Linked DNA regions of Homo sapiens: all the other regions are linked to region 2. The links are contacts of gene promoters, found by promoter capture Hi-C in blood cells and fetal thymus (Javierre and others, 2016). All regions are on one chromosome and are shown on one strand. Each heading gives the region's core, a stretch centred on a gene start or on the middle of the fragment in contact. The rest is flanking DNA. Distances are from core to core; before and after follow the strand shown. Region 1 overlaps GNPTAB (N-acetylglucosamine-1-phosphate transferase subunits alpha and beta). Region 2 holds the start of CHPT1 (choline phosphotransferase 1). Region 3 has its middle 23 kb from the start of MYBPC1. Region 4 overlaps GNPTAB (N-acetylglucosamine-1-phosphate transferase subunits alpha and beta).

Region 1 (2,700 bases), core at 137-2,636, 100 kb after region 2:
CTCTTTTCCTTTCAGTAGGATTATTCCCATTGGCACGCAAACATGTTCCCGTACCTTGGGAACACCTTCCCTTCACTCCATATCCATTCCAGTGAGTCCCTCTACCCCACATTTTCTGTCCCTTTCAAGGTCATCTCCTGCTTTCCCACTCACCCTTCAGCTCACTCCAGTATCACTTATGTTTTCACCACTTTAGTGGCCTTACCAAGGCCCCCACATTGTCAAACTCAACGGCATTTTCCTCATCTCTTACTCAAGTATTCATAGCAGTTGCCCAGTTCCTCTTTGTGGAAATGTTTTCTTGGTTTTCCCTCCTGTCGCCCTGGTGGCTCCTTTTCCATCTCCTTTGCCAGCTCATTCCCTTCTATCTAATCTTTCTGTGTGTCCTTTCCTTCTACTCTACATGCCCTCCTTCCTGACCAGGCTTCCTCCAGCATCCTATTCCACTGCCCCTAAGAAGTGGCCCTGCTACATTCAGATGGGCTGTGGGGCCCAGGCATTTAGAATTCATTCCAACTGCAGAAAGGAAAGGGAAAGACATGCCCCACCTTTAAGGAGACATCATGGAAGCTGCACCTACCACTTCTGTTTTCATTATCCAGAACTTACACAAATCTATTATATTATAAAAAGTTAAAATGTATCAAAACTTATACAAACACAGACTGTACATGGTACCGTTTGCAATTGAGAGAGGTAAACAAACATAAAAATGCAGCAATAAATCATAACCGAATAAAATCAACTGTAGTATATACTGTACTAAAATAATTTTGTACCCATCTCCTGTTACTATTGCAGCGAGCTCACATGTTGCGAGTATCTGTAGTGACACTAATTATCTCCACGTGAGCAGTTTGTCTCTCTAGTAAACTGCATGTTGCGGTAAAAAGTGATCTCTCATGTTTCTTACGTATTTTTCATATTTAGTGCAATACCGTAAACTGCGAAGAACATCATGGGACTCTTAGAAAGTGCCACTAGTGCCGATGGAAGTGCTCCCAAGAAGCAGAGGAAAGTCATGTCATTACAAGAAAAAGTTGAATGGTTTGACACGTACCATAGATTGAGGTCTGCAGTGGTGGTTGCTGGCCATTTCAAGACAAAAGAATTTAGCTAAGAATCATTGTTTTTTAAAAAAAAAGGCAATGAAAAATTATGAAGCTGTCACTCCCAGCTAGAAAACTGCATTTTTTGCTAAATGCCTCTTTATCTTGTATTGAAAATGCGCTTTAACGTGGGTCCAGAATTGCTATAAGAAACACATACCTACAGACTAACATAATGCAAGAAAAAGCAAAGTTGTTAGATAACAACTTAAAGCAAAAGGACAATAAGGGTCTAAAGCAGGAGAATGTAATGCCAGCAAAGACTGGTTTGATCATTTTAAAAAGAGATTTGGCTTAAAAATGTCAAGATAACAGGAGATGCACCTGCAGACCAAAAGGCAGAAGATCAGTTCCCAAAGAAAATCATCGATGAGAAAGGATATCTGCCTGAACATGTTTTTAATACAGATGAAATTTAATCATGGGAAAAATGTGACAAAGAACATTTATTAGTAAGGAAGAGAAGCAAGCATCAGGATTTAAAGCAGGAAGGGAAGGGACAGGCTGACTCTACTGTTTTGTGCAAATGCTGTTGGGCTTTCCTTACCTGTAATGCTGCTAACCCCCAAGGCTTGATGGAAAAAAATTAACACCAACAGTCAGTGTTTTGGTTGTACAACAAGAAAACCTGAACAAGAGTTCTTTTACTGGACTGGTTCCTTGGATGCATTGTCTCTGAAGTCAGGAAGTACCTTGCCAGTAAGTACTTCTATTAAAGTTCTTTTGATTGGACAATGCCCATGGCCACCCAGAACCCCATGAGTTCAACACTGAAGGCACTGAAGTGGTCTACCTGCCGCAAAACACAGCATCTCTAATCAGCCTCTAGATTTGGGGTGGGGGTGGGAGGGAAGAGGAGGGGCATAAAGATCTTTAATGCTCATTACACATGGTACTCTATGGAAAGAATTGCCAACGTTGTAGAAGAGAACCCCAATAGAGAGAACTTTTGGTTTTGGTTTTGTTCTGACTTGTTTCCATACACTTGTACGTGTACTTGAGTTTGTTGGACACTGGTCCAAACCCCAAACATTCCCTGACAGGGCTTATAAGGTTCTTATTTTGCTCTTGGGAGATTAATGAGAAGCAGAATGGGATCCTAAAATGCTAAAGCATGCAATCATAGTCCCTCTCCTGGGACCTCTGCCAGCTAGCTACATGTTCAAAAATTATCTTTGGCCAGGTGTGGTGGCTCACACCTGTAGTCCTAGCACTTTGGGAGGATGAATTGGGAGGATCGCCTGAGCCCAGGAGCTCAAGACCAGCCTGAGCAACACAGTGAGACCTCGTCTCTATTTTTTCCCTATTATAAAAAATTTTTTAATTAAAAAAAAATTATGGTCTTCTCTTGCGAACAATTTTAAATCAATGGATAGAGAACATCAAAACTAATTTGGATGGCCATCCTGGAGATCTTTTGGGTCCGCAAACTTGTCTTAGAACAAAATTAGGGCTAGGTGCAATGGCTCATGCCTGTAATCCCAGCACTTTGGGAGGTCGTGGAGGGAGGATCACTTGAGGTCAGGAGTTCAAGATCAGCCTAGCCAACATGGTGAAACCCCATCACTACTAAAAATACAAAAAAAAAAAA
Region 2 (2,700 bases), core at 198-2,697:
ATTTTTTCCTTGGACTGTTCATGGCATCGGTAAATTAAAAAGTAGTTACTGTCAAGTTCACTGCACATAAACCAGCATTGTTAAAAGTGGATCTCCATCATTCCATTTCCTTTCCTGCATTTGTCAGCATCGTTTTTCACACTAAAGATGAGGAGATCCATATTCCTAAGACATATACGCTTGGTCTGTAGAGACCCTCATTGCTCTAAGGCAGTGGTTGCCAGTTTTTTCCTTAAAGGGCCTAGTAGGACATAGTCCAGGCTTTGCCAGCCATACGGTCTGTCACAACTGAATTCTGCTGCCCTTGTAGCATGAAGGCAGCCAAACAATAGGTAAGGAATAAACATGGCTTTATTCGTGGCACTGAACTTTGAATTTCATATAATTTCACAACACAAAATTGTATTCTTTTGATTTTTTCCAATCATTTAAAAATGTCAAAACCATACTTAGCTGGAGGGCTGTAGGAAAACAGGTGGTGGGCTGGGTCTGGCACACAGGCAGCAGTTCGTGGACCCCTGTGCCAAGTGTTTGACGAAGCCCGTGAGGCAAACTGCACTTGCCGATAGAGGTTGCGCCACACAAGTGTCTTGGAAGCAATTTCTGGCTTGTCCTAGGCCTTAGAAAGTGCGTGCAGATCAGAGCCATGAAGTGAAGAGCAAAGCAAGTGACAGGCCTGTCTCAGGTTGTGCAACAGAACGTGTTTATGACAGATGTCCCCTGTCCAAGTGAGTGCACTGTGAGATAAGGGGCCGGTGACCTACCAATGCGTGTGGCAAGCCAGCCTGTTCCCCCTTGCAGGGGGAGGACACTCCTGCCCTTTATTCCAGGGAAGAGTATGTGTAAAAATATTCACCCTTGTTGGTATCAAATGCGCTGAAGAAAATAGGTATCGGGGTTTCAGCCATTCGGTCTCCTTGTTAGTGTTTCTAAGCCCTGATTTTCAGTTTCAAAACCTTGGTCTCTGAATCCGCAGTGATGGGTCTCTAGAGCGAATACATGGCAGGGCCGCCTTCCTCCGTACAGAAAGGGAGAATTGTGCTTGTGTGTTTTACCAAGCAGGACAGATGGGGCCGTCACCCCCGTGACCCGAGCCCTGCAAAACTGTGTTCTCACACGAAAACCCCCAGGCTCTGCGGGCAGCGTGGTCCTGCAGTGGCTAACACTGGGCGACCGGAGTCGTGTTCCGACCCCTAGGAGAGGAACCGGCTCGGTCGTGGTGCAGCCCGCGAGGAGACGACCTCAGGGCGTAATCCGACGCCGTGGGTTAAGACATCAGACCTCAGGCGCAGTGCAGCCGGCCCCTGGGGAGTCAAGGACCTTGATCGCCGATAACAAGTTGCCGTTGGCGGGCGCCGAGGGTGACCCGCGAGCGCGGCACCCGCCTCCCCGCCCCTAGCAGGACCCCCTCCGCCCCGCCCCCAGCCGGACCCCTCCCCGAGGCCCCGCCCCACCCGCGAGCCGCAGCCGCGGCCCCACAGCTTCTGGGGCTGGGGCCCCGGCAGCCGGGCAGGCCGGCCTGACCTCGACCTCCGCCGTGCGGGCCCGACCGGTGAGTCCAGCCCGGCAGTCGCAGGACCCGGCCGCCAGCCTCTCCCTCCACCTCTCCCTGCCCCCAGCGCCAGGCGCGGGCTGCGCTCGGTGGCGGCGGCGGGGCCCTCAGGCGGCCATGGCGGCAGGCGCCGGGGCCGGGTCCGCGCCGCGCTGGCTGAGGGCGCTGAGCGAGCCGCTGAGCGCGGCGCAGCTGCGGCGACTGGAGGAGCACCGCTACAGCGCGGCGGGCGTCTCGCTGCTCGAGCCGCCGCTGCAGCTCTACTGGACCTGGCTGCTCCAGTGGATCCCGCTCTGGATGGCCCCCAACTCCATCACCCTGCTGGGGCTCGCCGTCAACGTGGTCACCACGCTCGTGCTCATCTCCTACTGTCCCACGGCCACCGAAGAGGTAGGGCTGGCCGATCGCCCGAGCCGGGCCCCAGATGCGCTGCGGGCGGGTCGCTGGAGGCGCCGGGGGAAGGGCGGACCCACGCGCGGCTGAGCCTCTCCCGGGCCCCGGAGGGGCGGACTGGCCACTGCCCCGGGCGGTGTCCGCCCTGGGCCGCCTGGAGACTGTCACGCCACTATCCCAATCCCGTGACCATCCCAAGCCTCCCCTGGGCAGCGGAGGGGCTGTTAAGGTCACTGCCCCAGGTCCTATGTCCGCGCAGATCCTCCCCACGGCCGCGGACGGGCCGGAGGGCGCCTGCCCAGCCGCTATCCCATGCGGCGCCAACCTGTGAGACGGACCCGCGGTCGGGTGCTTTGCACACTGGGGACTGAACACCCCCATCTCCGTCCTGCCTGGCACAGGGACTTGTGCCAAGCCCGAGACGCCCTTTGAATACTTTCGTAACCGTTCGTTTCTGGAAGGTTGAGCTAGTGATCTTGAAATGACCGGTAGCACTGATCAAAGATGAGTTAAGAGGTAACTTCCTCTTTGCTTCATCGACTTTTTCAAGAAAAACAAACTGGAATGTTATCAAGGCAATAATTTTTTTGTCATCACAACCTAGGGATTAAAAAAACCCCAACATTTTATTAGCAATAATTACATTTGACCTTTGTACAAAATAAGGAGTAAATATAGGCTTTGGATAGCTGTTCATCAGAAGCACCCTTTGGGCTGAGTGTGGAGGGATAGGGGGCAGAGTGGAGTTCACTCCC
Region 3 (2,700 bases), core at 95-2,594, 130 kb before region 2:
AACACGGCAATGACCACATCACATACAAATGCTCCTCTCTCATTCCCCTTATCCCATGTTTGTATTGTTCTAGTTCCAGGATGCTGATACTTTAAGCCCGAGGCTCTAACTTGAGCAGGAAGAGTTTATTTTGGGATGAAGAATCTTCCCCCATAGGAGGGCCTCTCAACCAGTGTCTCTCTTTCTCTGTCTTTAGAAACCAGGAAATTCTAGAGGAGAAAATTGGTTTTCTGCATCTGCAGAATGACTTCTTTCTCTTAAAAATATCAGACTCATATTTTGGCTGAATTTACTCCGTTTATAGAGGGGACTGCAGAGTTGCAAGGACTTTAAGGTTTTGTGTTGAGAGTGGTTTTAGTCAATTATATTAAGAAAATTACTCTTGAATATGTGAAGTTGATGGGATGAATATATACATAATGTCCATTTCATTAAAACTATAAATATGTGCATTAAAATGGCCATGGAGGAAGGCAGGAACTGCAGACTCTAAGTGGGAAAAACGTGATAACACATCAGTTTGTTTTGTGTTGTTCTCTATGTGCAGGTGTTAGTTTTCTTTAAAAAAGAAAGGCTGAGTGTAAGAGTTTAATATTCTTTATTTTTTATTTTACTTGTGGATTAATTTTTGAGACAGGGTCTAGCTCTGTCACCCAGGCTGGATTGCAGTGGTTCAATCATAGCTCACTGCAGCCTCAACCTCCTGGGCTCAAGCAATCCCCCTGCCTCAGCTTCCCAAGAAGCTGGGACTGTAGGCACATGCCACCATGGCCAGCTAATTTTTTTTTTTTTTTAATGTAGAGATGTTACACGCTATGTTGCCCAGGCTGGTCTTGAATTCCCAGGCTCAAGTGATCCTCCCACCTTAGCCTCCCAAAGGGCTGGGATTACAGGCATGAGCCGTCACACCCAGCCTGCCCTTTCTATAAATATGGATATGTCCTGACAGAGTTCTTGTCTCAAAGAACATTTCAAGCATGTGAGGCTTTCTCGGAGTAGATAAGAAAGACGAGCTTTTGGGTATGTTTGGAAAGGAAAAAATAACAAATTTATTATACATTTGGCCAACTATGCCATGTGTGAAAATTCTTTGAGTCCTCTGGGGAAGATTTTGTACCACCACATATGGGATTTGCTTATCATCACCATAGCCTGCAAAAGTATAGTTCTTTTAAAAAAATCCAGATCTGGTCGGGTGCAGTGGCTCATGCCTGTAATCCCAGCACTTTGGGAGGCCAAGGAGGGGGGATTACTTGAGGTTAGGAGTTCGAGACCAGCTTGGCCAATGTGGTGAAACCCTGACTCTACAAAAATTATCCGGGCATGGTGGTGTGCACCTGTAATCCCAGCCACTAGGGAGGCTGAGGCAGGAGAATCTCTTGAACCCGGGAGGCGGAGGTTGCAGTGAGCTGAGATTGCCCCACTCCAGCCTGGGCAACAGAGAGAGACTCCATCTCAAAAAAAAAAAAAATCCAGATCTTCTTCCCCTCCTCTTCTTTCCCTTTCAACCCCAGATAGAGCATTTAAGGTTAGAGTCCATTATAGAAGAATATTTCATAAACAATTAGGTGATATGGCCCAATAAAACAACAAATATCTTTGTTTTTGTTCTCATTTAGGTTGACCCCTGTGCTCCAAGAACATCATGATATTGTTATTGGGAAAAAAATAAGTGGTGAATTTTCCATTTAAGAAATTAAATAATGTAGAATTATTTGCTCCCTTATTTATGCAAACACATTTTCTTTTTTTTTTATTTTATTGTTTTACAGGTGTTTTTCACATTTTCTTTTTTAGCTACAACTTTGGGTTTTAAAAAAATCTGCTTGTTCATTCTCTGTCTGATATAACACTAAAATTTCACCTTACTGTACCTTGAGATTTTAAACGAAAGATATATGGTAACTTTGGTAGGAAATGGGAGAGAAAACTGATTTTTAGTATGACTTATAAACAGAATATGATACAATGCTCAGCTTGGTATTAGGCTGTTAAAAGTAACCATAAAACTGTTCAGTGCAGAATTCCTTTTATATCAGCTTTCTTAGTGTATTTAATGTTGATGGTTTTAGATCATTAGCAACTTGACAAAAAAGCTGACGTGTCAATGAGCAGCCACAAATGAAGAATAGGCCTTTTGAAATTATAAAGTTATTGGGTTTGATGGTGTTATATTTACAGTGGCCTTTTCGAAATACCCCTATTGCATAAAGCGAGCTACATCTGTGGGAATCATTCCTCTGGACCAATCAGCTACAGCTATTCAGCCCTTAAAAGTCTAAAATGGGTAAAGGATTTAATAGACATTTCTCCAAAAGAGACATAAAAATGGGCGACAGGTATATGAAAATGTGCTCAACATCACTAATCGAAACCACTGTGTCGCCTCACACCAGCTAGGATGGGCTATCATAAAAAAGATAAGAGATAACAAATGTTGGTGAGGGTGTGTAGGAGAGGGAACCCTTTTACACTGCTGGTGGGAATACAGATTGGTGTAGCCATATAAAAAAAGCAGAATGAAGGTTCCTAAAGAAACTAAAAATAGTACTACCACATGACCTAGAAATCCTCCTTCTGGGTATATACCCCCCAAAAATGAAATCACCGCTTTGTAAAGATATGTGCACTACCATGTTCATTGTAGCATTAGTCACAATAGCAAGATATGGAAACAACCTAAGAGTCCATTGACAAATG
Region 4 (2,700 bases), core at 110-2,609, 70 kb after region 2:
GGGCGCCTGTAATCCCAACTACTTGGGAGGCTGAGGCAGGAGAATTGCTTGAACCCGGGAGGCGGAGGTTGCACTGAGCCAAGATTACACCACTGCACTCCAGCCTGGGCAACAAGAGTGAAACTCCGTCTCAAAAAACAAAAAACGAAAAAGACAGTTCCTTATTTCATATTGATGTTTTCAAGGTTGATGTGTAAGTTTTAGTCAGAAAAGGTTCACCTCATTCTTTAGTAGAAGATCTCATATACCTTAAGAAGAAAATAAACGTAAAAGGGAGTCACTTGACAGAAGCGTGATGAACAGGCCCTGGCATTTTGTAGCTGTGCAACCTACAAGTACAGGGCTTACATTTGCTCAAGGGGCACGTGCTGACAGAAATGGAGGAGCACGAAAACAAGAAGAGATTATTCCAAAGACTGTGACTATCAGAACTGCCAAAAACATGTCCAAACGTGGGTAACATGTTTGATACCCCTTGTTATCAAATGCTAATGTTCCAGTAGAGACTGACTTCTCTGGTCTACACAGATCTACTTTGCACATCTGTATTCTCTCTCCTCAGCTAAAGCGCATCTGACATATCTGACTGAAATACAACTTGAAGCTTTGTTTTCTCCAATATTCAAACATTTCCAAATCCATTTCTTCATATGGAAATGGGGATGATAACATTTGTGTACATACTTACTCTCTCTCTCTCTCAGGTAACAAACACAATTCAAGTGAATATAATGAATAATGCTCTATAAATTTAATGCTTTATAAATTGAAAGGTAGTAAGTAAATGTAACAAATTGCTATTATCAACAAGTCAAAATATAACTATGTGAGGGAGAGGGAAGAGCTGCTGAGGAGAGAAAATACTTATTTCTTTTGCAACTCTTTAGTAATTCTGTGACCTATCACAATCTGCTGCTGAAAGCTACCAGCAGTGAGCTCCTATAAGAACCAGTTAGAGTGATTCTTGCTCTTGGATTTATATAAGTGTATTCCAGATTTTCATATTTTAAATAAGAAGACATTTTCAAGTGTATTTTCTCTTGTTCAATGCCCTCAACAATGAATAAACTGGGCCACATGAGGGCACTAATTACCACCTCCAAAGAGTCCATTGATTACTGATTTGTTTGTTTTGAGAGAGGCTGTCACTCTGCCGCCCAGGTTAGAGTACAATGGTGCAATCACAGCTCACAGCAGCCTCTAACTCCTAGGCTCAAATGATCCTCTTGCCTTAGCCTCCCAAGTAGCTAGGACTACAGGTTTGCACCACCACACTTGGCTAATTTTTTTTGATAGAGATGGGGTCTTACTATGTTGCCCAAGCTGGTCTTGAACTCCTGGCCTCAAGCACTCCTCCCAGCTCAGCTTTGCAAAGCACTGGATTATAAGCATGAGCCACCATGCCCAGCATTACTGATTCTTTATTAATACATAAAGAATGTTTGGTTAAGTCTATAGCACATGTTCAATAATGATTAAGAAGAAAATATTCCATAAAAATGAACGAATTACAGTTTAACACATCCTTACCAGAGCAATCCCCACCATCCCAATCGCAGGCTGAATTATTACAAGCCTTGTCACAATAGCCATCCTTAATCCAGGAACCTGGGCAGCCCTCGGCACAGTTTGGCACAGGCCATGTCAAATAAACCTACGATAAAACCAAAGAGAAAATAAAATGACTTCTGGCTTCTGATACATTTTATTCTTGAGTTAAGATTCCCTTTATAAAAAGAAATTAAGTCTCTAGAAAGATTAAAATTTTCAAAGGGCTCAGCGTTCACACTCACAAGTGCTTTAAGTTTGCCTGTACCTACAGTCATTGTTTAGATCCTGCTGCGTTGACCGTTCTTACTGAGCGTATTTACTTTTTTTCCATTACTCAAGGAAAGCAGACAAGGATTCAACTCATGGATTAGTCTCTCATAACATGCTTTGATAATCTACTATGAAATAAAGTAGCACCATGCCAGACTTGACTGCAAGTACCAAAGCATGTCAAAGCTGGTGGGAAGTATGCACAGTCACTGCTTTTCTGTAACTATCAGTAGCTCATTAGTGTATTTGTGCATAATCTTGTCTCAAGGCTGAGAGACAATATCCTCTCTCTTCAAGCTTAAGGCCCTGTGATAAATTAACTGGCATAGCATTCTGAGCTGTGCATTCACCTGCTCTCAGAATTAGTGATGGGGTACATGGTTTTTCAAATTTAAAATCATTGAAAAAAAATACACTCCTCTTTAAAAATCTCTGTGCCTTTGCATATTCTAATTGGAATGTCTTTTTTAACCTAAACTAATTCTTACTTGTTCTTCTCAGTACATGTCAATTCAGATGGGCTTTCTTCCCTATCCTATCTGATTTAAGCCTCCTTTGCTCACACTCCTCAGCACCAAGGCACACCTGTCAGCAGGAAAAGCACCACACAGTCATTGATCTTGTTTGTCCCCTTGTTAAGCCACAAGCTCAACTTTGAGCCCTACAGTCTGATACAGAGGAGACAACTCAATAGGGGAACAGGAGAATGGGCCTGGTTGGGTAGCATAAACAATTACAGACAAAGTAGTTTTGTGTTATTAGCACTTACAGTTGCAGAGTTTTATAACTTCTAAGTTTACGGTGATAAGTCTCTAACTTATCACTGAACCCTTCTAACAACGCTACAAGGGTATTTGTACTTTCCTCACTATGCCAGAA

What was found. The method cuts DNA at HindIII sites, captures the fragments that hold promoters and counts their contacts. A CHiCAGO score of 5 or more calls a contact.
Region 1: a contact is called between a fragment that was not itself captured here and the fragment with the promoter of CHPT1 in region 2, in 1 of 17 cell types (neutrophils). The highest score is 5.5, in neutrophils.
Region 3: a contact is called between a fragment that was not itself captured here and the fragment with the promoter of CHPT1 in region 2, in 4 of 17 cell types (total B cells, naive B cells, M0 macrophages and 1 more). The highest score is 10.7, in total B cells.
Region 4: a fragment that was not itself captured here is called in contact with the fragment with the promoter of CHPT1 in region 2 in 3 of 17 cell types (total B cells, naive B cells and neutrophils); the score reaches 9.2 in total B cells.

The regions. Positions count from the first base shown.
Region 1 is chr12:101,797,917-101,800,616 of GRCh38, forward strand. The region is part of intron 1 of GNPTAB (N-acetylglucosamine-1-phosphate transferase subunits alpha and beta); the gene reads right to left. Among named protein-coding and RNA genes, the nearest start is that of GNPTAB, 32 kb to the right of the region's middle. The HindIII fragment of the contact is 3,127 bases long and covers 1-2,700 here.
Region 2 is chr12:101,696,193-101,698,892 of GRCh38, forward strand. It overlaps CHPT1 (choline phosphotransferase 1), which reads left to right and starts at 1,448. Exons shown (of 9, transcript NM_020244.3): 1 at 1,448-1,942. The coding sequence starts at 1,670. RefSeq lists an enhancer at 922-1,171 and silencers at 1,392-1,731, 1,992-2,181. The HindIII fragment of the contact is 18,657 bases long and covers 1-2,700 here.
Region 3 is chr12:101,570,270-101,572,969 of GRCh38, forward strand. No RefSeq gene overlaps it. Among named protein-coding and RNA genes, the nearest start is that of MYBPC1, 23 kb to the right of the region's middle. The HindIII fragment of the contact is 4,032 bases long and covers 1-2,700 here.
Region 4 is chr12:101,766,507-101,769,206 of GRCh38, forward strand. It overlaps GNPTAB (N-acetylglucosamine-1-phosphate transferase subunits alpha and beta), which reads right to left. Exons shown (of 21, transcript NM_024312.5): 11 at 1,531-1,654. Among named protein-coding and RNA genes, the nearest start is that of SYCP3, 28 kb to the left of the region's middle. RefSeq lists an enhancer at 995-1,164 and a cis regulatory region at 1,080. The HindIII fragment of the contact is 1,514 bases long and covers 603-2,116 here.